Regions from separate parts of the Homo sapiens genome. Here all the other regions are linked to region 1. Evidence: promoter capture Hi-C in 16 types of primary human blood cells and fetal thymus (Javierre and others, 2016). All regions are on one chromosome and are shown on one strand. Each heading gives the region's core, a stretch centred on a gene start or on the middle of the fragment in contact. The rest is flanking DNA. Distances are from core to core; before and after follow the strand shown.

The links. The method cuts DNA at HindIII sites, captures the fragments that hold promoters and counts their contacts. A CHiCAGO score of 5 or more calls a contact.
Region 2: a fragment that was not itself captured here is called in contact with the fragment with the promoter of STARD10 in region 1 in 2 of 17 cell types (M1 macrophages and M0 macrophages); the score reaches 7.7 in M1 macrophages.
Region 3: a contact is called between a fragment that was not itself captured here and the fragment with the promoter of STARD10 in region 1, in 4 of 17 cell types (naive CD4 T cells, M1 macrophages, M2 macrophages and 1 more). The highest score is 6.3, in naive CD4 T cells.
Region 4: a fragment that was not itself captured here is called in contact with the fragment with the promoter of STARD10 in region 1 in 2 of 17 cell types (M1 macrophages and endothelial precursors); the score reaches 6.4 in M1 macrophages.
Region 5: a contact is called between a fragment that was not itself captured here and the fragment with the promoter of STARD10 in region 1, in 2 of 17 cell types (erythroblasts and neutrophils). The highest score is 5.8, in erythroblasts.
Region 6: a fragment that was not itself captured here is called in contact with the fragment with the promoter of STARD10 in region 1 in 1 of 17 cell types (M1 macrophages); the score reaches 5.8 in M1 macrophages.

The regions. Positions count from the first base shown.
Region 1 is chr11:72,792,094-72,796,537 of GRCh38, reverse strand. STARD10 (StAR related lipid transfer domain containing 10) reads left to right here and starts at 2,491. Exons shown (of 7, transcript NM_006645.3): 1 at 2,491-3,663. RefSeq lists enhancers at 2,166-2,735, 3,867-4,366. The HindIII fragment of the contact is 8,350 bases long and covers 1-4,444 here.
Region 2 is chr11:73,190,149-73,195,149 of GRCh38, reverse strand. No RefSeq gene overlaps it. Among named protein-coding and RNA genes, the nearest start is that of IUR1, 9.7 kb to the right of the region's middle. The HindIII fragment of the contact is 1,118 bases long and covers 2,369-3,486 here.
Region 3 is chr11:73,161,658-73,166,397 of GRCh38, reverse strand. IUR1 (imatinib upregulated ABL suppressing lncRNA 1) reads left to right here. Exons shown (of 4, transcript XR_950294.3): 2 at 1,628-1,691; 3 at 3,727-3,858. Among named protein-coding and RNA genes, the nearest start is that of IUR1, 19 kb to the left of the region's middle. The HindIII fragment of the contact is 1,556 bases long and covers 1,260-2,815 here.
Region 4 is chr11:73,283,055-73,287,409 of GRCh38, reverse strand. The region is part of intron 1 of P2RY6 (pyrimidinergic receptor P2Y6); the gene reads right to left. Among named protein-coding and RNA genes, the nearest start is that of P2RY6, 13 kb to the right of the region's middle. The HindIII fragment of the contact is 4,518 bases long and covers 1-3,633 here.
Region 5 is chr11:73,211,830-73,216,260 of GRCh38, reverse strand. It overlaps LOC124902709 (a long non-coding RNA gene), which reads left to right. Exons shown (of 3, transcript XR_007062773.1): 2 at 222-418; 3 at 1,073-1,405. Among named protein-coding and RNA genes, the nearest start is that of P2RY2, 4.2 kb to the left of the region's middle. The HindIII fragment of the contact is 1,894 bases long and covers 1,893-3,786 here.
Region 6 is chr11:73,266,279-73,270,667 of GRCh38, reverse strand. It overlaps a transcript of P2RY6 not described here. Among named protein-coding and RNA genes, the nearest start is that of P2RY6, 3.9 kb to the left of the region's middle. RefSeq lists enhancers at 259-308, 1-678. The HindIII fragment of the contact is 1,145 bases long and covers 841-1,985 here.

The sequences.
Region 1 (4,444 bases), core at 1,242-3,741:
ACAGCGTGAAACCTCGTCTCTAAAAAAATACAAAAAAAAAAATTGCTGGGCATGGTGGTGAGCACCTGTAATCCCAGCTACTCAGGAGGCTGAGGCGGGAGAATCTCTTGAACCCAGGAGGCAGAGGTTGCAGTGAGCCAAGATCACGACACTGCACTCCAGCCTGAGCGACAGAGCAAGACTCCTTCTCAAAAAAAAAAAAAAAATTAGCTGGGCGTGTTGGTGTGCGCCTGTAATCTCAGCTACTTGGGAGGCTGAAGTAGAAGAATCCCTTGAACCTGGCAGGCGGAGGTTGCAGTGAGCCAAGATCGTTGCAGTGAGCCACTGCACTCCAGCCAGGGTGACAGAATAAGACTCCATCTAAAAAAAAAAAAAAAAAAGGCAAAACATAATTAAAGTGAGAATTAAAAAAAAATTAGCCAGGTGTAGTGGTGTGTGCCTATAAACACAGCTACTCAGGAGGTTGAGGTGGGAGAATAGATTGAGCCCAGGAGGTCCAGGCTGCAGTGAACAATGGTCTTGCCTCCAGCCTGGGTGACAGAATGAGACCCTGTCTCAAAAAAACAAAAACAAGGCCGGGCACAGTGGCTCACACCTGTAATCCCAGCACTTTGGGAGGCCGAGGTGGGCGGATCACACGGTCAGGAGATCGAGACCATCCTGGCTAACACGGTGAAACCCCATCTCTACTAAAAAAATACAAAAAAAAAAATTAGCCCGGCGTGGTGGCGGGTGCCTGTAGACCCAGCTACTCAGGAGGCTGAGGCAGGAGAATGGCATGAACCCGGGAGGCGGAGCTGGCAGTGAGCCCCAGATCATGCCACTGCACTCCAGCCTAGATGACAGAGCAAGTCTCCGTCTCAAAAAAAAAAACAAAAAACAAAAAAAAAACCACAAACGAACAGCCCCTGCCCTCCCCCCAAAAAAGACAAACTGCATCTCACACACAGGTGACCCCTGTGAATACAGTCTCTGAGGAGTGATGGAAGAGGAAGCCCTGTGAGAGGTGCAGACTGCTACCCTCTAGAACACCAGGATGCCTAAATAGTAGAGGGCAGTTTCATTAGCGACATCAGTTTGCAAACTGAAAAGAGACACTCTCCTGTAGGTACCAAAGGTGCTCTCTCTTTGTATAGGGAAAAGGCAGGCTGGTTGTTTTTTGTTTTTGTTTTTTGAGACGGAGTCTCGCTCAGTCGCCCAGGCTGGAATGCAGTGGTGCGATCTCGGCTCACTGCAACCTCCACCTCCCAGGTTCATGCCATTCTCCTGCCTCAGCCTCCCGAGTAGCTGGGACTACAGGCGCCCGCCACCACACCCAGCTAATTTTTTTGTATTTTTAGTAGAGACGGGGTTTCACCATGTTAGCCAGGATGGTCTCAATCTTCTGACCTCGTGATCCGCCCGTCTTGGCCTCCCAAAGTGCTGGGATTACAGGCGTGAGCCACCACTCCCGGCCTAGGCTGGTTTATGACTCACAGGGTCTGTATTTCACAATAATCATACATATTCAGCAGGTTTTGGGGAAAAGCTATACATATTTATGAGGGGATGTGAGTGCATGCACAATGGGTAAACACCTGTAACATATGTTCCATGTTCACTTTGGGATGGGGTTTTTGCGTTAAAGTGAGGTGGAATTTGGTTCTTTGCATCATAAGGTGGACTATAGGACACAAACACAGTTTGCGTGCAGTCTCTATGAGCTTGCTGAAACTGGCCTGAGGTCTGCAGTTACTTATCAGGAAAGAATGTTTGTAAGGCCTGTCCTCTGTCGATCAGCGTTGTAGTGGTCTGAGTTGTAAATCTCAGTAAAGAAGAGTCTGACAATTTGCATGATAGCTCCTATTGCTAGGGGTTTAGTAAGAGTGTGGTTTTTCTGGCAGCAGTAGAAATTTAAGAAGTTGCCATGCCAGCTGACAGCTGAGCCCTGAGGTAGGCAACGTTTGTTTCCTTAACCTTAACCTTAAGGTCCATCGTAGTTGATAAAAAGGCATCTGGCCAGGCCTGATGGCTCACGCCTATAATCCCAGCACTTTGGGAGGGTGAGGCGGGAGGCCAGCAGTTCTGGGGCCACTGCACTCCAGCCTGACAGACAGAGACCCTGTCTCAAAAAATAAATAAATAAAAAAGATAAAGGGGCATTTGTCTTGATCGCTCAGATCACACAACTAATAAGTAGCATTCTTTCTAAAAGCCGCAACAATGCTACTCCTCTCTTATAAGAGCTACTGTGTAACTCCTGCCCAACTCAAACCCACAGGCCCAGGCTCAGAACACTTGGCTCCATTGCTTCACTGTTTCCCTGCTAGCACGAACCCCCCAAACTCCATCTCCCAACATGCCGCGGGCCCCCTTTCTGTCAGCCTGACTCTTGAGCTCCTGAGAAATGTAGTTTTTCCAGCGGCCCAGCCCCAGAAAGGTCCTAGCCAAGAACTACAGTTCCCATGTGGCAATGCGCGCGCCATTCCGGTGGAATTCACCGCGGTCTCCAGTTTGCCATGATGGATGCCAGAACCTGCACGTGGGGCTTGGTGACGCGATGACTGAGATGCTGGAGTCCCCGGTCAGAAGGACGATGCCGAGCGCGCCGTATTTTCTCCTGCCTCTCCTCAGATCGCCGCCGTTGTTGGGCTGTGGAGACGTCTCAACCAAAGTGGAGCCGACAGAGGCCCCGGGAGCCGTGGTGACAGAGCGGCCACAACCACTAGGGGGCGGGAGGCAGAGCGGCCCCTAGTCCGCCCCTAGTCCGGGACCTCTGGGCGGTCCCGGGCGGGAAGCGCACGCGCAAACGCGGGGCTTCGCGGCCGCTGTAAACACCAAAGAGCGCCTGCGCAAGCCGAGAGTCTCGGGATCGACACGTGGGGGCGCCTGAGCGAAGATAACCGTAATAAATAGTAACCTAACGGTCCAGTCATCGTTCTGTGGTCCTTTCTTTTATGATTCACAAGGAATGACCCTCTTCATCGCCTCTCCTAATTCAGTCCTCACAACAGTCCTTTTACAAATGGGACAACAGGTTAGAGGAAGTCAGGCAGATTTCCAGCATCATAGAGAGTAAAGGACCAGGGAAGGATCAGGATTCAAGGACTGCACCCAGGCTCTGCTTCCAGCTTGCTGTGTGACTTTGGGTAATTTTGTTCCCTTAGGGAACTGAGCTTTCTCATTTGTAAATGCAAACAGGCTGTTGGGAGGATCAAATGAGATCCAGGGGTGAAAACAGCTTAGTTTACTTTCAGGAATTTACCCACGCGGTATATAAAGGCAAAATATTATTATAGTCAGGTGATTGTAGATTGAGGAACCCATTTCCTCATTCTGCAAATTGCAAACCTGAGGGCCCAAAGAGGGACAGGGGCTTGCCCCAGGTCTCAGCAGGCTGTGAGCAAGAGCTAAAGCCTAATCCTCCTGCCTTTGGGCCTGGAGCCCTTCCTTGTACCCCAGGGGTCAGTGTCTTTGTTGGATACAGGCTTAGATTGACTGACTGTACCCTGAGAACCTAGGGGAGTCCCTGTTCCCAATTCTTCTCCTACCCCCACCTTGGCCTGATGGAGGAAGACCCTGCTGTGTTGAGATGAGCACCAGAGCCAAGAAGCTGAGGAGGATCTGGAGAATTCTGGAGGAAGAGGAGAGTGTTGCTGGAGCTGTACAGACCCTGCTTCTCAGGTCAGTGGCCCAAGTAAGGGAAAGAACCCAGGTGTGACAGATGAGGGGGCAGCACTAAGGGGACAGACTCTGAATGGAAAGGAGTGGGAAGGCAGTGGACACTGTTTCTGAGCTTGGGAGGAATTGGGTACTCAGGTAACTCCATCTGGGGGCAGTGGAGCTGGAGGTGATACCTGGGCTGGCCTGGCTGATGAGAAGGGGAAGTGATGCGCATTGAGCTGAGGTCTAGGAGCCACTCCCCAGCCAGGTGAAGCGAGGTGGCACCTAGGCACACCATGGCACCTGCAGGATCATGCAGCTAACCCCAGGGAAGGGGACTTTTCTCTGACCCTTGGAGCGGTGGAGCTGGGCTGTATGCAGCTGATTCTCTCTAGAGTGCTCTTAGAGGTTTTGGGGGTAGGTTGGGGGAAGGGCTGGGAGACCCTGAGGTCTCATTACAGATTGGGCCTCCCCAGGCAAGTCATGAAAGGCAGGTATATGTAGAAATAGAAATCCAAGATCCTTCAAGATATCCCAGATAGGCCAGGCACGGTGGCTCACGCCTGTAATCTCAGCACTTTGGGAGGCTGAGGCGAGCGGATCACCTGAGGTTGGGGGTTGAGATCAGCCTGACCAAAGTGGAGAAACTCCATCTCTACTAAAAATACAAAAAAAAAAATTAACCGGGCGTTGTGGCGGGCACCTGTAGTCCCAGCTACTCGGGAGGCTGGGGCAGGAGAATGGCGTGAACCCGGGAGACGGAGCTTGCGGTGAGCCGAGATGGCGCCACTGTACTCCAGCC
Region 2 (5,001 bases), core at 1,678-4,177, 400 kb before region 1:
TGCACATCAGCTCCAATTATACCCTGGCATCCAGCACTGTGCCTGGCACATAGTAGGTGCTTATTGGGCACACAAATGAGAGGGTGAAAGGTCCCTGCCCTAGAGGCATTCACAGTCTAGCAGGGGAGACATGGCACACTGCAAACCCGTGAAGAATCTTCCCCAGTGGTAGCCTTGGATTTTGGCCATTGGATACCTTGAGGTAGCGAAGTATGTCCAGGACCAGGTGGAGGGTGGTGCGTGGGGGGTGGTGTGAGCGCAGGCTGCAGGGGAATGCTGCGTGCATGCATGCACAGGGCTCAGCTGTCCCAGGAGTGCTAGGGAACTGCATGACTCAGGACAGGGCGGCAGGCTGAAGGAAGGGTGGGACGACCCAGGATAGTGCCAGTGAACCCATGGGGAACCAGTCTCAAACCTGCCTTCCTGCTTCCCTTCCTCCGTCCACAGTTTACTGCTCCGGGCAAAGTCTGCTGCAGTTCACAGAGAAGCAACAGCTTTGATGGCATCTGCAACCTAAGTCATAAAGATCAAAGTGGGATAAAGCTGGAGTGAGTTTCTGAGTTCCAAAAATAAGTAACATCTCAGAGGTTACTTTAAAAAATAGAGGCAGCTCAGTGCAACAGAAGGAGCTTGAGCCTCAGCATTAGACAAATCTGAGTTAAAATCCTGGCTTAGCCACTGTAGCACCTACACTTCCCAAGCCTCAGTTTCTTCTTTAATCTGGGCACTGGAGATGGTGTCTGTAGGGGGGCCTGGCTCATTTAGCCAGGGCTTAGTGAAGGGTAGGTAGGCATGGCCCTGTCACAGTCATTGCGGGGTCCCCGACCACAGCTGTGAAGGGGTCTGGACAAGCAGATGCTAAACGCCACTGGGACCTGCATACAGGGAGAAAGTCACTCATCTCTTCTAATACTGGAAAGAGATTGTGACTACCTACTAAAATTGCCCCAAGCAACATTCTATGCAGAGGAGAAAGAACAATGTGGTGTGACTAGTCCTTCCAGCCTCAGTGGGACAGCCACACAGTATTTCCCATCTATCAGCTCTCTATCAATTCATCTCCTGTGTCAGGTTATTGGCCAGGGCAAGAGGGAATGAGAGGAGAGGAAGATCCAGTCCCTGACCCCTGGAAATGCAGACTCTTGCAGGGCCAGATTCTCATGAGCAATGGCATGCCATGATGCCAAGCCTCACCAGGTCCAGGCCACGGCCGGAGGTGCCGAGTTCAGGCTGTTTGCATGGTGACCTCTCAGACTTAGTCAGCGTCCCCACCATCCCCAGCTTTAGTTGCATCATTGCACTCTCACTTATGCCACTAATATTCACTGAAGCCTGCTCTGTGGTAGGGCCCGAGTACAACAGAACGTGTCCTCTGCCTGCATAAAGCCTCAGTGACATGGACCAGTTGGTCCCAGTGAAAGGGCGATTCATTCTCTCCTGTTTTGTGATTGTGTGTCTGCCTCCCCACCAGACCGTGTGCTCCATGGAGCAGGGGCTGTGCCTGTCCCGATCACTGTCGGCTCCACTGTCCTAATCACTGCCCAGAGTCTGCTCCAAAGCCTCCTCCAGAGAGGGTGCTCCATTGATTGAACAGCTCCATGAGGAGGAGGGTGACTGACAGCACTCTGGGAACCCAGAGGAGGAAGTCACAACGCTAAAGGATAGCCAAGAAAGGGCTCCTGGCAGAGGCTGTGGGTAAAGTTTGCATAGGATGGAAAGAGGCAGGGCTGGAACAAGCAAGGGTATGGCAGTAGGAATGAGGTTGAGCTTTGCAGGAGTTCTGGGGAAGAGAGGTGGCGAGGTTAGCTGAGTGCAGGCCAGGAAGAGTTCCGGTGCTGCCTCTTGGGGTCTTGGGGTCTCTCTGCCTCTCTACATAGCTCTTAGTTTCCCCTAACCCCAGGGTTCTCACTCCCTCATCCCCCTACCTTCCAACAAATCAAGAAGTTCATGGATAAGGGACCCTGAGGGCAGCAAGGGAGGTGGTGAGAGCTCCAGTTGTCTGAGTCTAAGACCTTCCTCTGATGAAGTCCCAGCTCCAATTACCTTTCCCACCTAGCATGGCCGGAGAAAGTACAAGACGCCCAGTCAAATTTGAATTTCTGATAAACAGTGAAAAATTCTTTAACATAACGGATATTTGGGACATGTGCTTATACTAAAAAGTTATTCATTGCTAATCTGAAATTCAAATTTAACAACATATCCTGTATTGACATTTGCTAAACCTTGCAAACCCTCCCTTGACCCCCGCTTTTCAGCATCTGTCATTCACCCCTGCCCTGAGCCCCCAGGAACCATCAGAGGTTGTGGGCCTCCTGCAACATACTCAACGAAACAGAAATTCAGAGCTGCTAGGAACACTGAAGCTTATCTAGCCCCATTGCTCCCCACTATAAGTGGACTAGGAGGCCGAGGCCCAGAGGAAGCAGGCACTGGCAGGTCCTTGGGCACCTCTCAACAACTTGACTGGAACTTGGGCCTTCATGACAGCAGGAGGACCCTTGGCTGGGGGCTTCTTAGGAAAGGCCAGGGCCCTCCTATTCATCATTCTGGGGCAAGGCAAGGCAGGGAGTCTCCAGGTTTCTGCCCTGACCCTGGGCTGTGGTTTCCTGGATCTTGACACCCCCAAGTGAGTCACCTCCACCTCCCAGGCTACATCTGACTCAGTGCCAAGGCCCTGGGGCTCCTCAGCTCTTACCTGGCTCCCAGGTTGGAGGAGCCAAGTGGGCAGGTTGGGGTGGCTCTTGGGCAGGACTTTGTGGGAGGGACTAGACCTTGTGAGAGGCTCATTTCCCCACAGTCCTCCTCAGGCCCTGGTAATGGTCCAGTCAAGGGCAGCCCTCAGAAACTCCCAATGGTGCGGCTGGGTGCAGTGGCTCACACCTGTAATCCCAGCACCTTGGGAGGCAGAAGCGGGCAGATCACTTGGGGTCAGGAGTTCAAGACGAGCCTGGCCAACATGGTGAAACCCCGTCTCTACTAAAAATACAAAAGTTATCTGGGTGTGGTGACGGGAGCCTGTAATCCCAGCTACTTGGGAGGCTGAGGCAGGAGAATTGCTTGAACTCGGGAGGTGGAGGTTGCAGTGAGCCAAGTTCGCACCACTGCACTTTAGCCTGGGTGACAGAGTGAGACTCTGTCTCAAAAAAAAAAAAAAAAAAAAAAAAAATAGGAACTCCCAGTGGTGCAGCTAGAGCTGAGGAGAAGGTGGAGTGCCTGGTGGCAGGCGGGGTGGGGGTACATGGGTCGGGGGTAGGGACATAGATTTAATTAAAATCACTCAGCCCATCAGGCCTGCAGGGGTCTTCTGTCAAGTGGCCATTCCCCGCTCCCCACTGAAGGTGCCCATCCCTCTGGGCTCTGTTTCTTCCTCTCATCTTTCCATTGTTATGTTATGTATTAGTTTGCTTATTGTCAATGTCTAGTTAGAACATAAATCCTGTTCACTGTTTCAAGATCATAAAACAGTACCTGGCTCAACAAGCTTTGTGGAAATTGCCCTTACTGCATTTCACCTTGTGTGGAACATGGCCCCTGATGCCACAGTCCCCCACCCACCCATGAGCATCTCAGCATCTGCCAGGAGACTGGCTGTGTGCAGAGCTTTGTGTTCCCCCGGTCCAGGTTCCAGTTCCCTCCTCTGATTACAGCCCAGCCTGGGTCCTGGGACTGAGAAAGTAAAAGCACAGGGTTGGGGCAGACTGACAGACAGTGGGTTTAGGGTGCTGCTCAGGGTGGGGCTCTCATCTGCCTGCCCCAGTGCTTCCACCCGAACCACACAAGCCCACAGCACCTAGACGTGGCCCAGGAGCTCAATCCCAGGCCCACACGGAGCTGACCCCTCCCAGCCAGTCGGGCTGAGGGTACAGCACTGAGCCAGAAGCTGATGACCTGTCTGCCTTGACTTGTGACCTGCCAGATCCCTAGGCCTTGCCGGGCCTGGCTCTGTCTGTCTGTACAATGATGGTTCTGGGCTGACTGGTCTCTGAGGCTTGCCAGCTCAGCCCACCCATGGCTTTTTCCTACCCCTTATCTACCTCTAAACCTCTGTGCCAGCCACTCCTGCATTACCCTGGGGGTACTCCTGAGCCAAGGATCTTAGACCCTCCCCTTCACCCTAGTCAGACCCTTTGCTGACCCTTCTCTGGGACCCAAGTCCTGGTCCTATCTGTCTTGGGGACCATAGGCAGTTGGTGCCAAAGACTGTCCCCAGGATACTTGGGATACTTTAAAGTCATCCAGTAAAATGTCATTCAGGGAAAATCTGTCCACATTTACCTGGCTCCAGCCCTCTAATCAATCCTCCTTTGGGACGCCTGCTCCCCTGACATGTCCAAAGCTGATGAACTCTTTATCTTTCCCCAGACCTGCTCTTCCTGTCACAACCTCAGCAAGAGCATCACCAACCAGCCGGTCACCTGGGCCAGGAACCCAGAAGCCACCAAGCCTCCTCTCATTTTCTGCCTGCCCTCCTCCCATCCTTAACTAAATCCTGGCCACCCCTCTGTGCTATCCTGGGGACTGTCCACCTCTCACCTTCCGCTGAACTGCCCAACTTCATCCTTCATCTTTTCCTCCTGAACCTCAAAAGCAGAGGGCCCTTTGACACTGCTGTCTGCCTTCAGTCCATGCTTCATGCAGCAACCAGAGAGGGACCCTGCTGGCCACACACCCAGCCTTGTCACTCCCCTGCTCAAAACCCTTCCATGGTTCCCACTGCCCTCTGGATAAGGTCTGGCTCCTTGGCCTGGCATTCGAGGCCCTCCAGGCTCTGGACCCTGCCAGCCTTATCAGCTCATCTCATGTGGCTGTTCGACTTGCAGCCAAGTATCCTCCAGCTCTCAGCTGTGGCTCACGATGTTCCCTCCACCTAGGAGGCCTCTATTCTTCCACATCTTTAGGTTCCTCCATCCTGAATCATCTGGAGAGTCCGCTCTGGGAATTGACTCCTTATTTAGGGAGGCTGGATAAACAAGGCTTTTCTCAGGCTGCATGTGTGTT
Region 3 (4,740 bases), core at 788-3,287, 370 kb before region 1:
CGCCAAAGAGCAAGACTCAACATTTCTCTTAGAATTGCCCCAAAGTAAATCTTTACCTCAAGGCCTTAGTGAGGAATGGTTATTGTATTGTAGATTCCTGTCTAGAGATGGAGTAGTGTTTTACATCAAACAGTCCACAGCAACTCTCTCTCCTCTCAAGCAACCCCAGGCTCCTCTCCTCACCAGTGAACCCCACCTCCACCTTTCCTGCCCTCTCCCCACACTACTTTTTTTATAGCACAATTAGCTCTGGGGTTCTCTTCCTTACCCGTGATATATAAGGCTGTGATCTAGCATAGGAAAGGCCATCACCCTGACCCTGAACAAGACTTCGTTCTCAGCAAACCAAAAACCTGCAACCTACCTAGGTATATTTTCCTTAGAAGGCATGGAGGAAATTGTAAATTTTCTTGTGATTATGGTAGTATCATTATATAATTTCAGATCTGAATTTTTGTTATATATGAGAAAAATGACTTGATTTTTAAATCATTGTACATTACATAGATGTCAAATTACAATATAAAATGATTTTTATATTGTAAAAATTATAAAATATACAACATAAAAATTATAAATATACAATATAAAATATATAATTTTATATTGTAAAATTTTGTATATTGTATGTATTTATAATTATAATATCAAATAATTTTTTAAATTATGTACCCAGAAGGAAAAATATTAATTTGAAGTCATATTTTTTCCAGCTTTACTGAGGTATAATTGAGAAATAAAATGTATATATAATCAAGGTGTACAATGTGATATTTTTACATAGGTATACATTGTGAAATGCTTACCACAATCAAGCTAATTAACATATTCATCACTTTACAGAATTACCTACATTTTCTGAAACATATTTTTTTCCTGTCGTGTGTTATAATTCTTCAGAACCAAATATATACCACACTGCTAAATCACCCCTTAACTGGAGATCAGTTTATGCAAATTACCCAGAGTCCTTTTAACACATTATTTTTCTGCTTAAATTGGTCATTTTTTGCTGTCACTTGCTCCCACAACCCTACAGATGCAGTGGATCCCTCCTGTCCCTTGCCCTAGCTCAGCTTCTGCTTTCTCATAGCCTGCACTGACTCAGGCAGCTACCCACTCCCTCTTTTCTGAGTCTTCCTGCCTCATCTCCTGTTTCCAACAGCTTAGCTTCCTCCTCAGATCTCAGGTTCAAATTCCTCAGAGGAATGAATGGCTGGCCCAACTTAATCCCTGTCTTCCAGTTTGGGCCCCAAGCTTTTTGGGTTGAACCAGCTCTGAAATCTCCAGCAAGTCCATAGCTTAGCTGCTCTGAGGCGTTCAGCTGTAGATAAGGGAGGTGGAGGGTTGTGGAACAGGGTGAGGGGAGAGCCCTTGAGCAAAATGGCTGTCATGACAAACACTCTGGAGCTTAGTCCATTCAGAACTGGGGGTGACTGTCCCCTTGCCACATTACACTTAGAATGTGGGCTCCCATTCCAAATCCCAAACCAGGAGAAAGCCCTGGATTGAGTGGTACCTTCCTGACCAGAGAAGAGAGACTGGAACAACAAGGGAACATCACTCACAGGGACAGGGGAGGGAGAGAAGGGGCCACAGAGGACATAATCTCCACCTTTGCCTGCAGACAAGGTCTCCAAGCACAGAAGCTGAGCTATTCCGGGTGGCCTGGAAGGAAGTATCAGAACCAGGTATGGATGTTACAAGGAGGGCAGACTCCATTTCAGCTTTTAAAATATTTTTCTCACAGTCAGAGCTGCTCCATAACAGACCAGGCAACCTTTGAAGGTAATGAGCTGTGTATTTTGGCAAGGTTGTAATGGACAGAATTCCTATAAGGTTGCAGTGGGTTGAACTTTGAGGTCTTTGAGGTCTCTTGCAGCCCTGAGCTTTGCTATTTGGAATACTTAGTTGAATAAATGAAGAGTGAATAGCTACTTATTATTTGCTGGTTGAATGAAGGTTGATTTGTTAGAGAAAGTGAATGAATGAATGAAATTAGTAGTCCTAATAAATACAGAATGCTTGACTGAATGAAGACTGGTTCATTCATTGATTAGTTGAATGAAGGTTGATTGGTTGGTTGCAAGAAAGAATTCATAAATGTAGGTCATAGATGAGCAGGCTGCTTAAATGAAGGTTTGGTGGCTGATAGGATTCAGTTCCTTGGCACTTGCTATCTTCTCTTATCTTGCCCTTTATCCTGCTTTTCTTTCTTTTCCTTCCAAGTGTAGTCAAGAACTGTTTTCATTTGTGTGCTGGGTGTGCAAAACATTGCAGACTAAAGACTCCTTTTGCATAAACAAGATTGGTTGCCCAGGCACATGCTTATGGTGACTGGTCTAACCTGCTTCTGAACTAATGGGTGATCTGAATTTAGCATCTTGGCCTAGGGAGTGGAACTGAAGGTCACAACTGGAGCTGGGCCTCACGTAGGCTCCCTCATGTGTAGGCAGAAAATGCTGTCTTCTCTGTGGGTGAGCAAAGGTTGCCTATTTGCAAGAAACTATATCCCAAACATTCTTTCAAAGTGCCTAAAATTCCACCAGTAGAATTACACCTTCTTTGCACAACAGAGCTGAAAGGCTGTTGAAGCAGCACATTCCAGCAACCTTTTGCTCAGATTGTTGTGCCTTTGGAGTAACTGTGATCCTTGGTGAAATGTGAATGGAGTCAGGGAAGGGATGCATGTGAAGCCCTTAGTGGCTGGATTAACCAACTGTTGTCACCAGCTCCTTCGGTCAATTTGGTCTATTAGCTGAGCTCAGTGCTCCTAATGGGGAACAGAGGAACCTGGACCCAGGCTGGATAAGCTTTGTAGGGACAGTGAACAGGAAATAGCCTGAGTACTTGAGTACTATCATGGGCTGTAGACATAGGCAAGGGGCCATGGTGGAATCCTGAAGATGAGGAGCGGCTCTTGAAGGGGACCCACGAAGGAAACCTAAGTAAGGAAAGAGGCCCAGAGACTTTCCCTCCCATTCCCCAGGGTTGTCTTGAGCTGGCTTGGGTGCAAAAAGGAATAATATACTTTCCTGGTCCCCCTCATCCTGCCCCACCTCTGGAACTAGAGAACCAAATAACTTGAGAACTGCATGTAACTTGTGTGGTCCCTCCACCAGCTTAAGGTAAAAACTATGGCCAAATTTTTTCCCCATTAATTGCTTGAGCTCCACAAGATTTTATCAGCAGGAAGTTCAATCTGGCCCTCTGGAGGCCTTCCCCCATGTCACAGGAGTGCTCAAAACCCACAGGGACTACACTAGCTCCTTTCCAACAAAGGCACTCTTGAGTCCCAGTCTTGCTCCATCTTACTGTTCAGAGTCCCAGCAGCTGTGAACACATGACCCCCAAATCCAAGCTTTCATTCACACTCCTGAGCTCCAGCAAGTTTCACCAGGAGGAAGGTCCAGAGGGGCTTCTAGGTCCTCAGCCCCAGAGTTAAGCCTGGCCACCAGTCCAAGGCTCCTTCCTACACCACTGGGGGCTCAGGGGTTCTTTCCTTCCAACAAGTGGGGCTCACTGGGGATGGTCATCTTAGCAGCCAGATAACTTTGAACCTCACAAGGAAAGTGACTGGACCTTCTTCCATTTGTGCCCTGGGGCTCCTTTGTCAACGTCTCACTCCTCCCAAATATGTTGCCTTTTTCTTCAGCTCTGCATCCCATTTGATGTTAGGAGAGGCAGCCTTTGTTGGGCCACAAAAGGTCCTGTTTTGTCTCCCAGGTGCTACTTACATCTGATAAACTCAAGTGGTGGACAGAACAGAGAGGGCCTCCTCCAAGGTGACTTGCTAAGTCCTCCCCTAACGACGAAATAGAGAAGCTTCCTGCCCCTGTTACACATGGCCTCCTCCCGGTAAGTATCCCAGAAAGGAAGTGACTTCAGTGACCATTAGTCAGGGACTTTTATACTATGCCACTGGGTTCCTCAGAAAAGACCTCTGTGTGGGGCAAGTCAGGGAGAGGGAGACCAAGAGAAAGTGCCCTCTACACACGAGCACCCCCTCAATACACATACACGCATGCACGCACACGCACGTGCATAGTTATCAGCCCCATGCGACCTTACCTGCCCTTCTTGCCTCCAGTTAACCACTATCAACTCCTCACCAAAGCCTTCATGCAGTCTTTGGGTAACTTTTCCTCTGATTAAAGAACCCTGCAGCTAAAATACGGTTTTTGTTTTGTTTTGTTTTGCTTTGTTTTTTATTTAGAGACAGGGTCTTGCTCTGTCATCCAGGCTGGAGTGTAGTGGTGTAATCATAGCTTACTACAGCTTTGAACTTCTGGGCTCAAGTGATCCTCAGCCTCCCAAGAAGCTGGAACTACAAATGTGCACCACTGTGCCTGGCTAATTTTTTCTTAAATTATTTTGTTGTTGTTGTTGTATAGACAGGAGTCTGCTTAGGCTGGTCTCGAACTCCTGAGCTAAAGCAATCCTCTGCCTTGGACTCCCAAAGCATTGGGATTACAGGCACGAACCACTGCACCTGGTCAAATATGTTTTTTGAAAAAAAATCTCCAGGCCAACCACAATGAGATACCACTTCACACCCATTATGATGGATATAACTTTTTGTTAAAAGGAAAATTACAAGTGTTTGCAAGGATGTAGGAAAATTGGAACCCTAGTGCACTGCTCATAGAAATGTAAAATGGTGTAACCACTGTGGAAAACAGTTTGTTGGTTCCTTTAGAAGTGAAACATTGAGCTACCAAGTTGATCCAGCAATTTCCC
Region 4 (4,355 bases), core at 125-2,624, 490 kb before region 1:
GATCTAAGCCTACCAATGAGAGAAGAGTGGGCCCCTCAGGCCTGTAACTGGCTCAGGGTGGAGGAGTGACCTTCACTGCATGCCTCAGAGTCAATTCTGGCGCTTTTACTGGGGCATCAGGAAGGAGACAGGTCTTCCACAATATTTGCAAAGTTAGTAGAAAGTGAGGCAGGAGCTGCTGGAGCCAAGTGAACTAAGTTCCAGGCATTGTCCTGGGCGACGGAGATACTGCCACCAGGGAGGAGACTATCCACATAGAAAGCCAAGGAATGGCAGAGATGAGAGATGGGGATGCATCGTTTCCTGAGAACAGCATTGAGTGCCTGGTTTCAGCTGTGCCTGAGGTTTTACCTTTGGTGTCATGAGCTGATAAACTCCCTTTTTGCCTCAATCCATTTAACCTAGGATTCTGTCACTTGAAACTAGGAGTCCTGCCTGTAGATCTGCACCTTGTGCCCAGGAAGACAGGTGACATTTCCCTACGAGAAAACTGAGGCCAGAGAGGTTAGGAACTTGCCCAAAGTGCACTATAAATCCACCATGATACCCTGTCTCTCAGGAAGAGTGGCTTAAGAAAGGACAAAGAAATGGAGGTCAAGAGTCAGGGCAGAGAAGAAGACCAGTCGAAGGGGCGGTGTCAGACTCCCTCCCTTTCCTTCTCTAACTCTGCTAGGAACAGGGGACAAGGTCTGCTTTGCCTCTGGAGCCTCAGAGACCAGTATAGGCTTTGGCCCAAGAGGCACTGGGAAATGTTGGATGACTGGATCCAGTCTATAAAGATGAGCGCCGGGGCTCTGTCCTCGGTGCTGCCTGGTTCCATTTTTTTTTTTTTTTTAAATCTTTGTCTTGACTGATGACAGAGAAGATTTGTCAAGGAGAATGAAGGTAATGGGTTCAGGAGTAGCACCTCTGAGACTGCTTGGGTCCCCCAGTCCCCACCTCAGGAAAGGCAGACCACTAACCCCGCCAAGTGGTTATTGTGGGTTATGATCCTGCCCATTTCCCAGGCAGACCCTGAGGCCCGAAGGTAGGCAGTTTTGTCCACAACTCGTACAGGTAAGGTTTGGGTGTGGAAGGGGAGCCTCAGGGAACTCCTCCCCTCCCGTGAAAGGCAGCCCCTGCCTTGATTCCTGTTCTGATCATCCCTAGCTCTTCCTGGGGCCTGAGCCCACCTGGCAGTGATAAGACGTCCAGCTGGACCCAGGGGTCAATGACAGGCCTCTGAGTTCTGGACCCTCAGGGCTAGGGAGGCCTTAAGGTCACCTGACCCAGAGGTCTCCCCATCATCCCCTCAGAGAAGGGGGCTCTCTGAAGCCTCCCTGACTGGGCTTGTTTGGCCCCTGCCTGCATACTTCCCATTGCAGGGAGCTCACTCCTCTCCTAGGCCACTGCATTCCACCTTGAGAAAGCTCACTGGGAGATATGCTTTGTCACACCAAGCCCCAAGATCTGTCCCTAGTGACTGCTCTCCCACACCAGTCCAGCTTGCCTCTGGGGCCATATAGCTTGGCTGCCCCAGGACACCCTGCAGAGGTTGTCCCAAGACCATCCATCTATTGGTCTTCATTCTCACCAGGCAATTTCAGGCACATGTCCAGGTCCCAGGAGACCTAGTGGTGGATCCTCAAGGATGAGGCCGTGGTCTGTGGCTGTTTTCAAACCTGAAGACAAAACCCTTTGCTACCCTCTGTCCTGTTTCATTGCCTGCCTGGGGCCTGTAAGGGGGGCATAGTCTCTTCTTTTGGGAGGAGGAAACTAAGGCCCCCAACAGCTTAGTTACTTGCCAGGGCCACCAATCCGTCAGTGATCTTCCAATCAGCAGGACTGCCTGTCGCCAAACCCCAAATCTTCACCCTCAAACTGGCCTGTTTGTGGCCAGTCCAGTGTGGGAGGAAGAGGACTTTGTGGGTGTCCAAGGGGTGGCCTGGGAGGAAGAGATCAAAGTAAGGGGCAACTACCTCATTCAGAGTGCAATGTAGGAGGTCAGCAGGCAACAGTGGCTCCTGCTGTGGAGTGTGCATGAAGAACACAGGACAGGCCGGGTGTGGTGGCTCACGCCTGGAATCTCAGCACTTTGGGAGGCCAAGGCGGGAGGATCACTTGAGCCCAGAAGTTCGAGACCAGGCTGGGCAACATAGAGAAAGCCTGTCTCTACCAAAAAATGTTTAAAAATTAACTGGATGTGTTGGCGTGTGCCTGTAACCCCAGCTACTTGGGAGGCTGAGGTGGGAAAATCGCTTGAGCCTGGGAGGCCAAGGCTGCAGTGAGCTATGATCACACCACTGCATTCCAGCCTTGGCTACAGAGCGAGACCCTGTCTCAAAAAAGGGACGTAGGACAGACCCCCTCAGGTGGTCACTCGAATGATACCTTCTCCATGGGACCTTCTCCTACCACTCTAAGCTAAAATTATAAACCCCTACGCAACGCATGTGCATGTGTGATTCCTACGCCCCTTCTCTGCTATATTTTTCTCCTTAGCATTTAAAATCTTTTAATACACTGTTCTACTTATTTATTGGTTATTGTCTCTCTCTCATGACTGAACATAAACTCCACCAGGGCAGGGGTTTTCGTGTTTTTTTTTCACTGCTGCATGTACTTAGGACGGTGTCTGGCATATAGTAGGTTCTCAATAAATATTTGTTGAGTGAATGAACAAATAAATTCCAGACGTGGTTCAATTATGTCTACACAGAGAGGACTGGGTGCACGGGGGTCTTGGCTTGAGGCTATTCATGTAGCAAGCTGTAGTTTGTACTTAAGAGTATGTGTTTATTGGGGATTGGGAGCAGATAGAGATTAAACGTGAGCACCAAAGGCCTTTAAGCCAGCCCTGGGGCTGCTTCTGCCTGGCCGTGTGTGTGAGATTTGGGCTGTGAACAGTCCCAGCTGAGACGGGTGAATAGAACTTCGCCTGGCAGGGCTAGGCAGCCTGCATCTCCCTCCTGCCCTGCCTGAGGTTTTCTCTGGTACTCTCACCTCCCTGCACAGGATCACTCCCTCTGCACCAGGGCCCGGCCAAGGATCTTCCTGGCTTCTCTCCCTCCCCTTGCCAGCCTAGGCCTCCCCACCAGGACCCAGGATTCCCATGAACACAACAAGTCAATTCGTGTCCCTCATTCATGGTGACACCAGACTGCTCCATCCTGCACTGTGGGGCTGAGTAGAGCTGGAGGACATGACTTGGTTGAGTGCCTGAGGCCCTGCAGACCCTGTCACTGCCCCACTTGGCTGGGTCCCCAACCTTTTGTCTGTCCTAGGGCATCCTCCCTCCTCTGTCTTCTAAGCCTTGGCCCCATCTTTCTTGTCAGCCCCATACCCTCAACTCTACCAGCCCTCAACTCCTCCTTCAAAGCAGACAGCCTTTCAGAGGGGCTGCCTTCAGCTTCCCACTGTCCAAATAAACCCGTGTGTCTGCACCTTCTCTCCTCACCCATCCACAGCCCCGCGGGACTCCAGGTACCACCTCCTGCCCTCTCTTCAGCACCTTCCCTGTGCTGCATCTGCTGGTTCCTTCCCCTCAGCCCAAACACTTCCCACTCCCCAGTCCCTCTCTCATCTGAGCAAAATGTCTTCCTTGACCCCTCGTGCCTCTCCGTCTGTTCCTCTTCCTCCCTGCGCAATCAAGCTTCTGGAAGAGTCACCCACAAGCCCTGCCTCCCTGCACCCATTTCTCACACACTTACAGTCAGGCCCAGGGCAGAGCAAGGAGCCTTTGAGCCCAGCTCCGGGAAGAGCAGTGGGCACTCTGTCTTCTGGGTGAGGCTGGCAAGATGGAACCAAGGAGCCAGCAACTGTCTGAGCTCCATCCACAAGGAAATCTCCAAAGTGATCTTGAAAACACAGGCCTCGGGGAGAAAACAGGCCACTGAGCATGACTGGGCTTGACGTCCCTGAGCACCACCCAGGGCTGGTGCAGGGCTAGGGGAGGAGAGCCACCTCTCTGGCTTCCAGGAAAGGGCCTGGACTCTGCCTGGAAGGTGGGTGGGGATCAGGGCCGGCAGGGGCACCTCCAGGACATCTGTGTAGCAGGGGATTAGGGAGGTGACTGGTTGGGATGATACCTTTGCATAGCTTGTGACACTGGTTTGAGAAAACATCAATGGTTTCTGTCACAGAATAGGAGGGGTCGTTGCTTATGGAGTAGGTGAGGGTTGGGGTACAGGGCTCCCCAGATTACTGCCCCTGGGGATACAAAATGTGAGGATTCACTCCTGGAACAGGTCTCTCCTCAGAGCTCCCCAGAAAACCCAGAGTTCTTCAAATCCCAGCCCATGGAATTAGATCCAAATGCCCAATCCCAGCATTTGTACCCCTCTGTCACCCATCACTGTTCCCTCTGCAAAGCTTGG
Region 5 (4,431 bases), core at 1,590-4,089, 420 kb before region 1:
TCAAGGCGTTAGTATCCCATGCAATGAGGGCCTAGAAGTTTCGTCTCCTGACATCCTCCCCAGGCAGTCCCATCGCTGGGTTTCAGAGGCCATCAAGCCCAGCAGGCTTCAAATCCCCCAACAGAGTCCCCCTTACCTGGGGCTGCCTGGGGAACTCCCATCCCACTTCAACTTGAGCACCTTTGCCTTTGTATTTTTATTTATTTACATTTCCTGGTAAGAATTTGTTGCAAGCACATGAAAGATTTTGTGGCTGAAGTAATGTAAAACCATTGATCAAACCGGAAATTGAGACACAGCCAGCGTCACACAACAGGCCATCTGAAAGGCTGGAATAGCATCGAGGGAGTCTCCCTGGAACCAAGCAGCCAAGGCAGGCTAATGGTGAAGGCCCAGGCACAGTAATGGTCCCCTGGAGGTGGGTAATGGAACCATGGGGGCGGGAGGAGGGTTCCATTAGCAGTAGCAGATCAGGAGGGGAAGGGCAAAGTTCCAGCCTCAGCTTCTCCCATGTATTAGGAGGCTTCCTGTCTCTCCAGCCCTGAGGAGGTATTTGGCTCATTCAGGCCTTTTCATCCTCCTTCTCTCAACTTCTCTCATTGCCCCTGGGAAAACTTGCTCTGAAAATGCATGCTGGGGATGAAGCCTCTGCCCTGGCCCAGGCTCCAATCCCCCCTTCCCAGGGTACAGTGGTGTCTCTGTTGCCCCTTGATGCCATACCCTGCCTTACACTCTCTGGTGGCTCCACCATCCTCTGGATAAAGCCTAGCTCTCTAGCCTGCCACTCCAGCCTCCCTGCCTCTCTGCCTCACCTCTCACCTCTGACCAGCCTCCTGTTGCCTCTTGCTGCTCCCTCTGCCCACAGTGCCCCCTGCTTCTGGCTCCCCACCATGGGTCCTCGAAGACCCAGGCCAGGTGCCCCACCACTTACCATGCTGTTATTGCTATCACTGCCTGTCTCCCCCTCTAACAGGGATCTCTCTGAGAGCAGAGCCAGGTTCCATTCTGTTCACAATTAAATGGCCAACACCTAGCACTGTCCCTGAATAATTTTTCTTTTTTTTTCTTTGAGATGGAGTCCTGCTCTGTCATCCATGCTGGAGTGCAGTGGCGTGATCTCAGCTCACTGCAACCTCCGCCTCCTGGGTTCAAGTGATTCTCCTGCCTCAGCCTCCCAAGTAGCTGGGATTACAAGTGTGCACCATCACACCCTGCTGATTTTTGTATTTTTAGTAGAGACAGGGTTTCACCATGTTGGCCAGGCTGTTCTTGAACTCCTGGCCTAAAGCGATCCACCCGCCTTGGCCTCCCAAAGTCCTGGGATTACAGGCGTGAGCCACCGTACCTGACCCCTGTCCCTGAACATTTGTCACAATATATTATGAGTGAATGAGTAAGAACTCTATTTTAGTGGTCACCTTCTTTGTGCTAGTCATTAAGTTTAAGGTATCTCGCTTAATATTCTCCAGAACCCTGTGAGATAGGCATTATTTTATTCTCATGTGACATGTAGAGAAACAGGTTCAGAAAGGGGAAGCGAAAGTCCAAAGCAGTGAATCTGCGGTGGGTCTCCTGGCCCCAGAATTGCAGCCTGATGGGAAGGAAGGCCCTGCTGAGTTCCCAGAGTTATGGCTGGGTCATGGCATTGGGACCCACACTGGCAGCTCCAGTTACACAGGGCTGGGCTGGCTCTAGCAGCCTTGTCTTACTTGCTCCCTGAACTGCTGCATTGACCTGCACCATCCTCCCTTCCCTTGCCAGCCGAGAACTGTGCTCCTCAGGTTTCCTGGGCAGGGTCCAGGGCTCTGATGCCAAACGCAGCCTGGAAACTCTAGCTCTCAGCATGCCAGGATGCGGGCACCCAAGTGAGGCCGCCTGGGATGCAGGAAGCTTAGTCCAGGCCTGGGCATGCCTCTGTTCCATCTCCCCTCAAGCAGGACCAGCTACTTAATCTGCGGGACCCAGAGCAGAATGAAAATGTGGGCCCCTCATTCAAAAATTTAAAATTTCCAACAAAAGAATGAAAAAATAAGAAAAAATTAAGAATTTCAAGATGGTGATAGCAGAGTATTTAACACTTCAAATCATGACCCTTACTGTCCAGGTCACATGCCCACAAAGTCAGCCCTGTCGTCAGGCCTTGGTTTCCTTGTCTGTCAAGTGGGAGAATGGTAGCCACTGGCCAAAAGGGTGAGGGTGAGAATGAGGTGGGAGCTGGTGGTAAGAGGTCCAGTGAACAGCATGAGGATGAGGTAAGAGTCTCCAAGTTCATGATTTGTTATCTGGGTCTCAGCACCGGGTGGCAGGCCAAACTCCTTGCCAGGAGTTTGATTGCTTACAACAGCTCTTTTTCACAGAACCAAAAAACTAAAAATCCATGAAGCAAAGTAACTTGCTCAGGGTCACACAGAGACTCAGTGGGGGAAGCCAAGATCAGAGTTCTGGCCTGGCTCTCTTCGAAGCTGGTGCTTTTTGTGACCCAGGCAGGAGAGAGAGAAGCGCAGGAGGGAGGTGGGATGGGGACAGGCTGCTCAGGACAAAGAGGGCCACTGTGCAGACACAAAGACCTGACCACAGAGGCCCCTCTGGGGGCTGGGACAGACAAATGGATGGAGCCCTGTGACTCTATCTGTGGTGACTGGGGTAGCTGCCAGGAGCTGCCTCCTAGACCCTACCTGGTTGTGATGAGGGTTGGGGAGGGTGTTGGTGTGCAGGAACCAGGAAATGGGTCAGGGAGGAGAAACAAACTCAGAGATGGGCCCCTTCCCCACTCCCCAGGCCTCTGACCCCATCTCCCCCTAGCTCCTCCTGGGCAGCCTGCCAGCTTATGGAATCTCCCACAAACCATCCACCGCCCCACATTCCTCCTTCTCAGTGAGGGTGAGGCTCAGGCAACTCACTGTCTGGCAGTCCCAGCCTCACAATACTTCTGACCCTTCCCCATCACCAGTGGCAGGATGAAGCATATGCCCTCGGCGCAGTGTCCTTCAGGGCCCTGTGTGACCTGCCCTGCTGACCTTTCTTCACTCACCTGTCCCCACTCCTCCTCAGCCTTCTACGCTGCAGTCACATGGAACGTCCCACCATTCTCCAAACACTCTGTCCTTTCATACACACACCCCCATGTTGGCTCATGCTTTTCCTTCTTCCTGGGGGGCTGTTTCCCCTGCTCCAGTAGACTGAAATCCCATTTCTCCTCCATGAACCAGCTCAAATGCCACCTCCAGTAGCCAGCTTTCCTCCATGCCCACAGTTGGGTTTAGCTTCGCTCATTAACCTGTTAATCTACACATGTTGGGTTCACCCACTCTAGCGGTGCTCCTCCCACGCTGGCTTGTGTTGTAGTTGTTCCAATCCACAAAGCCTACCTGGAAGAGGGGACCTTTGAGCTGAGCCTTACAGGACAGGTGGACTTCACTAGTGAATGTCAGTGGTAAGAAGTGACAGGAGCTCAAAGAATCAGGGATATCAGCCCTATCTCCAAAATTTTATCTGCATCAGCCAGGTTGCTGAGTTCAAATAGCAAGGAGTCTATAGTTCAGAATGGCAGGAGTTGAGTGTGCAGGGACACTGTCAAGGGATAAAGTTAAGAGGTTCACCAGGGCCAAGCCACGAAGGGTTTTATAATGCCATACTAAGGAATTTTTTTGCTTGCTTGTTTAAAACACATTTGAATTTATTTCTCAGCTCTATAGTTTACTAAGTAATTAAGTTCTGGCTTTTATCTTTACTATTTTCTCCCTCTTAATTACCTTGGGTAGCTTTTCTGTTCTTTTTCTACAAGCTTATTAAAGTGAATACTTAGGCTGGGTGCGGTGGCTCATGCCTGTAATCCTAGCACTTTGGGAGGCCGAGGTGGGTGGATCACTTGAGGCCAGGAGTTTGACTGGCCTGGCCAACATGATGAAACCCCGTCCCTACTAAAAATACAAAAATTAGCCGGTCATGGTGGCACACGCTTGTAATTCCAGCTACTCGGGAGGCTGAGGCGTGAAAATCACTTGAACCCAGGAGTTGGAGGTTGCAGTGAGCCAAGATCATGCCGCTGTACTCCAGCCTGAGTGACAGAGCAAGACTCTGTCTCAAAATAAATAAATAAATAAATAAATAAATGTGAATACCTATTTTGTTGTCATTCTTTTTCAATAATGTAAGCATTTTTAAGGCTATCATTTCCCTCTGAATTCAGCTTCGTCTATGTTACATACATTTTGATATGTAAAGCTTTCTTTATCATTGTTTTATAACAATAGTTATAATTGTTATAAATTATTATAACAATAATATATATAATATATATAAAATATTATATATTATAATACTATAATATAGTAGTAATTGAATTTGTAATTACTCTTTGACACAACCAAAAGTCTTTTTAGGGGAATATTTAGGTTTTGGAGTTCTGTTTATTGCTTAAACATGTTATGA
Region 6 (4,389 bases), core at 164-2,663, 480 kb before region 1:
CAGCCCTGGGGAAGCTCTCTGCTTCCTCTGTGGTCCAGAGAGGGAGCACATCCCTCAACCAATCCCCAATCCCAATATCCCAGTAGGCGAGAGGGCGCTGGACCCAGAGAGGGTCGGGACTTGCCTGGGTCACACAGCAAGGCAGAGCTCCCTCTCCTGCCCTCTCTTGGCATGTCCACAAAGGTAGGTTCAGGGGTGAGCCTCCCAGCACAGTGCTGGCCTGTGAGGGGCTGGCTGTGCCCCCCGTCAGCTCCTGGTAAAGGAGTGTGAGGTGTTTCTGTGGCAGGCCCACCTGGTAGTGCCAGCCTGCCCCACCCTCCAGGCTCTGACAGCCAAATTCTCCTACCCCAAGCCCCAGGAAGCTGAAGGCATTTTCCTTGCAACCCCAGCTCATGAGAGTTTTGGTCAACCCTGCCTCAGCTTGCTGTGTGACCTCAGGCAGTCCAGGCAGTCCCATCCCTCTCTGGCCTCAGCTCCCTCATCTGCCAAATAGAGGAAGTGAAGGCACTTACATATCAGGAGTGTCATGAAGAATGAGCAAGACACTGACAAGAAGGCAGTTTGCAAATTTTTAGACACTATCCAGATGACAGGCAAGCAGAAAACTCATCTGAAAACCAGCCCCTCATCCTGTGGGGCCCTGAGGTAGCCCCAGAGCAGGTCCTTGATCCTTGATGGGAAATAAGCACAAATTCCACAGAACCAGTTCTTCCGAAAAGACAAAGCCACCTCTGCTCCCAGCCAGCTGACAGGAAGGGCCCCTCCTCTGTCCTTGTGGTAAGAAGGTGTGGGGGGAGAGACGGGAAAGAGACAAGGCTGGGAAGGAGGCCTGGGAAAGCTTGTTCCGGGAGGCAGAGGCATAGCCCTGAGGTAGCCTTGAGAGCCACCAACCCCAGTCAGGCCCCCAGGCTGGGGGAGGACATGAATGCTGGTTGCACAGTGTCTGCCTGGGGGCTTGTCAGCCATGTGTACCTGTGCTGGAAGATGCGCATGCATTCACAAGGCACAGGTGTTTGGAATTGTGCCTAAGTATGTGTGTGTGTGTTTCTGTGAGTGGCTCTGGAGTGTGTACACCTGTTCACATACCTGTTTGCCCAGGCCCGGGCCTCTGCATGTGCTCCACACACATGCTGCTCCTGGGGAGCCCCGCAAACCCCTAGTCCACAGGCCTTATTTTCCCAGGCTCCGAAATCCTTATCATAATCTTCAAACTGTCCCAGATGTCACGGGAGATTTGTGGGGTTCCCAGGCTCTTGATTTTCCCCAGGAATAAAAGCAGTTACATAAGATGAGGAGGAAGCCTTAGGGGCTAACTTTCAGGCGCAGGCTCTCCCAGCTCAGCCCAGGGTGTAGGCTCCTCACGGGGAGGGGAGGAGTGCCCAAGGTTGAAGCCCCTTAGACCCTCCGTTGCCTGTGGGCACTGACCCCTCCACAGCCACCCTCCTGCACTCAGTCACCAGCAGGAAGCCCCTGGGTCCTTTACAATAAATCAGGTGCTTTACAGTTTACACCCCACATGCCCTTGCTGGGTGATGCTCACCACTAGCTGGCCAGGCTGACCTTCACGTCCTACCCCCGAGGCCCTGCCGCCAGGCAGCCACTGCTAGCTCAGTCCTAGTGTCTTCCTTCCTGGCTCTGGGCTGGGCTCACAGTTCAGTACTGGCTACTCCCTTGGGTGGGTCTCACCCCTTCCTGAACCTTGGTTTTCTCAGCTGTGGAATGGAGCTGTTCCGATCCACATGAGTCAAGGGCTGAGAAGGGTCTCTGTAGCCTGTAATGAGGCCCCTGGCAGGCAGGAATGGTCTCGTGCACATCCCTGGCCACCGCCCATTGGCCCCTTGCTGCTCCCAGGAGTCAGGAGGGAAAACACCACCTTCAGCCCTCTTGACTGAAACAGGAGGCTGCCTAGCCCTGGTCCGTGGGAGGAGATGTGGTCCCTCTGGGATTCAGATCAGATCCTAAAAAGAGTTGGCCCACTTCAAGCTTGCAGGAAGCATGGTTGGTGGTCTCCTTGGACAGGAGGAGACTGGACATCTTTTTTTTCCAGACAGGGTCTCACTCTGTCACCCAGACTGGAGTGCAGTGGTGCAAACACACAGCTCACTACAGCCTTGACCTCCTGGGCTCAAATGATCCTCCTCAGCCTCCCAAGTAGTTGGCACTACAGGCATAAGCTACTACGCCTGGCTAAATTTGTATTTTTTTTTGTAGAGACAGGGCCTTTCTAGTTTGCACAGGCTGGTATCGAACTCCTGGTCTCAATCGATCCTCCTCCCTCAGCCTCCCAAAGTTTTGGGATCACAAACGTGAGCCACCATGTCTGGCCAGGGCTAGGCCTTCTTGCTGAGCCACAGAGGTTTTCCCTCTCTGCAGCCTGAGCCCCTCATACTGTCCAGAGTCTGGGGTCTGCTGTTTGCCTTCCATCATAGGAAACCACAGAGAGGCCACAGAGACCTAACAGAGTTGTAAGGAGCACATGCCTGTGGGTGCAATTCTGCACTGGTGCATGCACAGCACACCCAGCCCCGGAAACAGCTCCACATAACTCACACAGGTTCACACATACATATGCACACGTGCCCTGGCACCTGCCACACTTGGGAACACACCACCCACGGCAGGCACGCAGGCACCATCACATGCATGGACCCACTTCCAGCCAGCTTACATAGTGTTCTAGCTTAGCTCAGCAGCAAGTTGCATGTGAAGAGCTTTCATAACCAGGAAAGAGATGGGAGAGGAAGAGCTGAGTCCTTGGATGCCCAAGCCCTTCCTTTGCCCCTCCCAGAGAAGCTAACAGGTTTCCCCAAGAACACAGATGGTTTGTCTGGCTCACCCTCTTCAGCCATCCCACATAAGTCCTGGTCAGAATACTCACAGAAAGTAGGCAAAGGTTTCTATGGGAGGATTGTCCCCAGCTTGCTCAGTCAGCTACCAGTCCTGCTTGTCGCCAGCTCAAGGCAAGGTTTTAAGCTAATCACTGTGAATTTTGGAGCTCTCCACCCCCCAGCCTATGCTGAGTTCAGACATGGCTGTGCATCAACGATGCTGCTCCTGCTGGCTCCACAGGAGTCTTTTCTACAACCTGAGGTCTCTCAGAGAGAATGAGGTTTGCCTTTGAGGTCTCTTCAGCCCCATTTCTTGTTCTCTCTCTCCTTCCTTTTGATGGCCTTGCAAGGTGCCCAGTGACTCCACAATTCCCTCATCCTGAGGGGTGCCTACAATCCAAGATCTGAACCTTTCTCTGCTCTAGGGCCACCGTCCCCTGAGAGCTGTGAGGTACTCCCAGCAACTCTGCTGCTCTGATGAGGAGGGGCCTCTGGGTTCACTGTCATCCACCCCAGAGAGCATATGGCCATTTTACCAGGCACCTGCCTCTACTCCAGGCTGGCTTAGGCAGGGAGGAGACCTTTTCTGGGGCTTCTCACATGATTCTGCTGAAGTAACCTCTTCCTTGGGAGTTTATAAGTTTACAAGAGTCAGACTGCCAAAGCCAGGGCCAGAATCCTCCAACATTGGAGCCAGAATTGGGGAATGTTACAGCTTTGGAGTGTAGAAAGTTGGAGTTCGAATTGTAGACTTCTAGAATGTTTGAGTAATTATAGACTCTTAGGGCTAGGGGTGTGGAATTATAAACAATTATAGCCAGAATTGGGGATTAAAGGAAATCAGGGCCAGAAGTGACGACAGCATCACTTGGTCCCACCTCCCTGACAGCTAAGAAGACAGCTGGCCTTATCACTCAGAAAGTCAGGGCTGGGCCAGGCCTCCTTCTCCCCAGGAGGGCTCTGTCCAGACCTTCCAGAGAAGCTCTCAGGGCCTCTGGGGCAGCAGTACTCCCTGTTAGGGACAGTGGGGACAGTGGCTTGCCTCTGTGGTGCCCGAGGTTGCACTGGCCCATCATGGCACCCCGTCACCATGAGATATATTTAGGTTCCCTCCCCAGATGTTTCCACAGCTCCCAACACTGCCTTTTATGTCCCCTTGTCCTCCAAGGCCTCCGGGCAACTCCTCTAAACTGACTCAATGAAGTCAACAGGAACAGGGGCACTTGCTCTGCCAATGCAGAAGTTTTAGCCCCAGAAACAAGGCTCAGCCTGCGGGGAGCCTCCTGGTCCACTTCTGCTTGCAGCTCAATGCTGACCTCACAGCCTCCCTTTCAGCTCTCAGGGCCTGTCTTGGTCCAGGGACTAATATTCCTGATCCTGTACTGGACTTTCCTCATTCCAGGCAGAGGGCAACCCAGGCTCCTGCCCCTGCCAGTTCCCAAACACACACATACACAGGGCCAGCATTTTTCGGTTCCTCCAGGGTTTGTCAGGACTGAGAAGCCTCCATCCAAGCCCATGGCTGCCCCTGCATTTCTCCCCCAACCTCTCTCCCACGCTC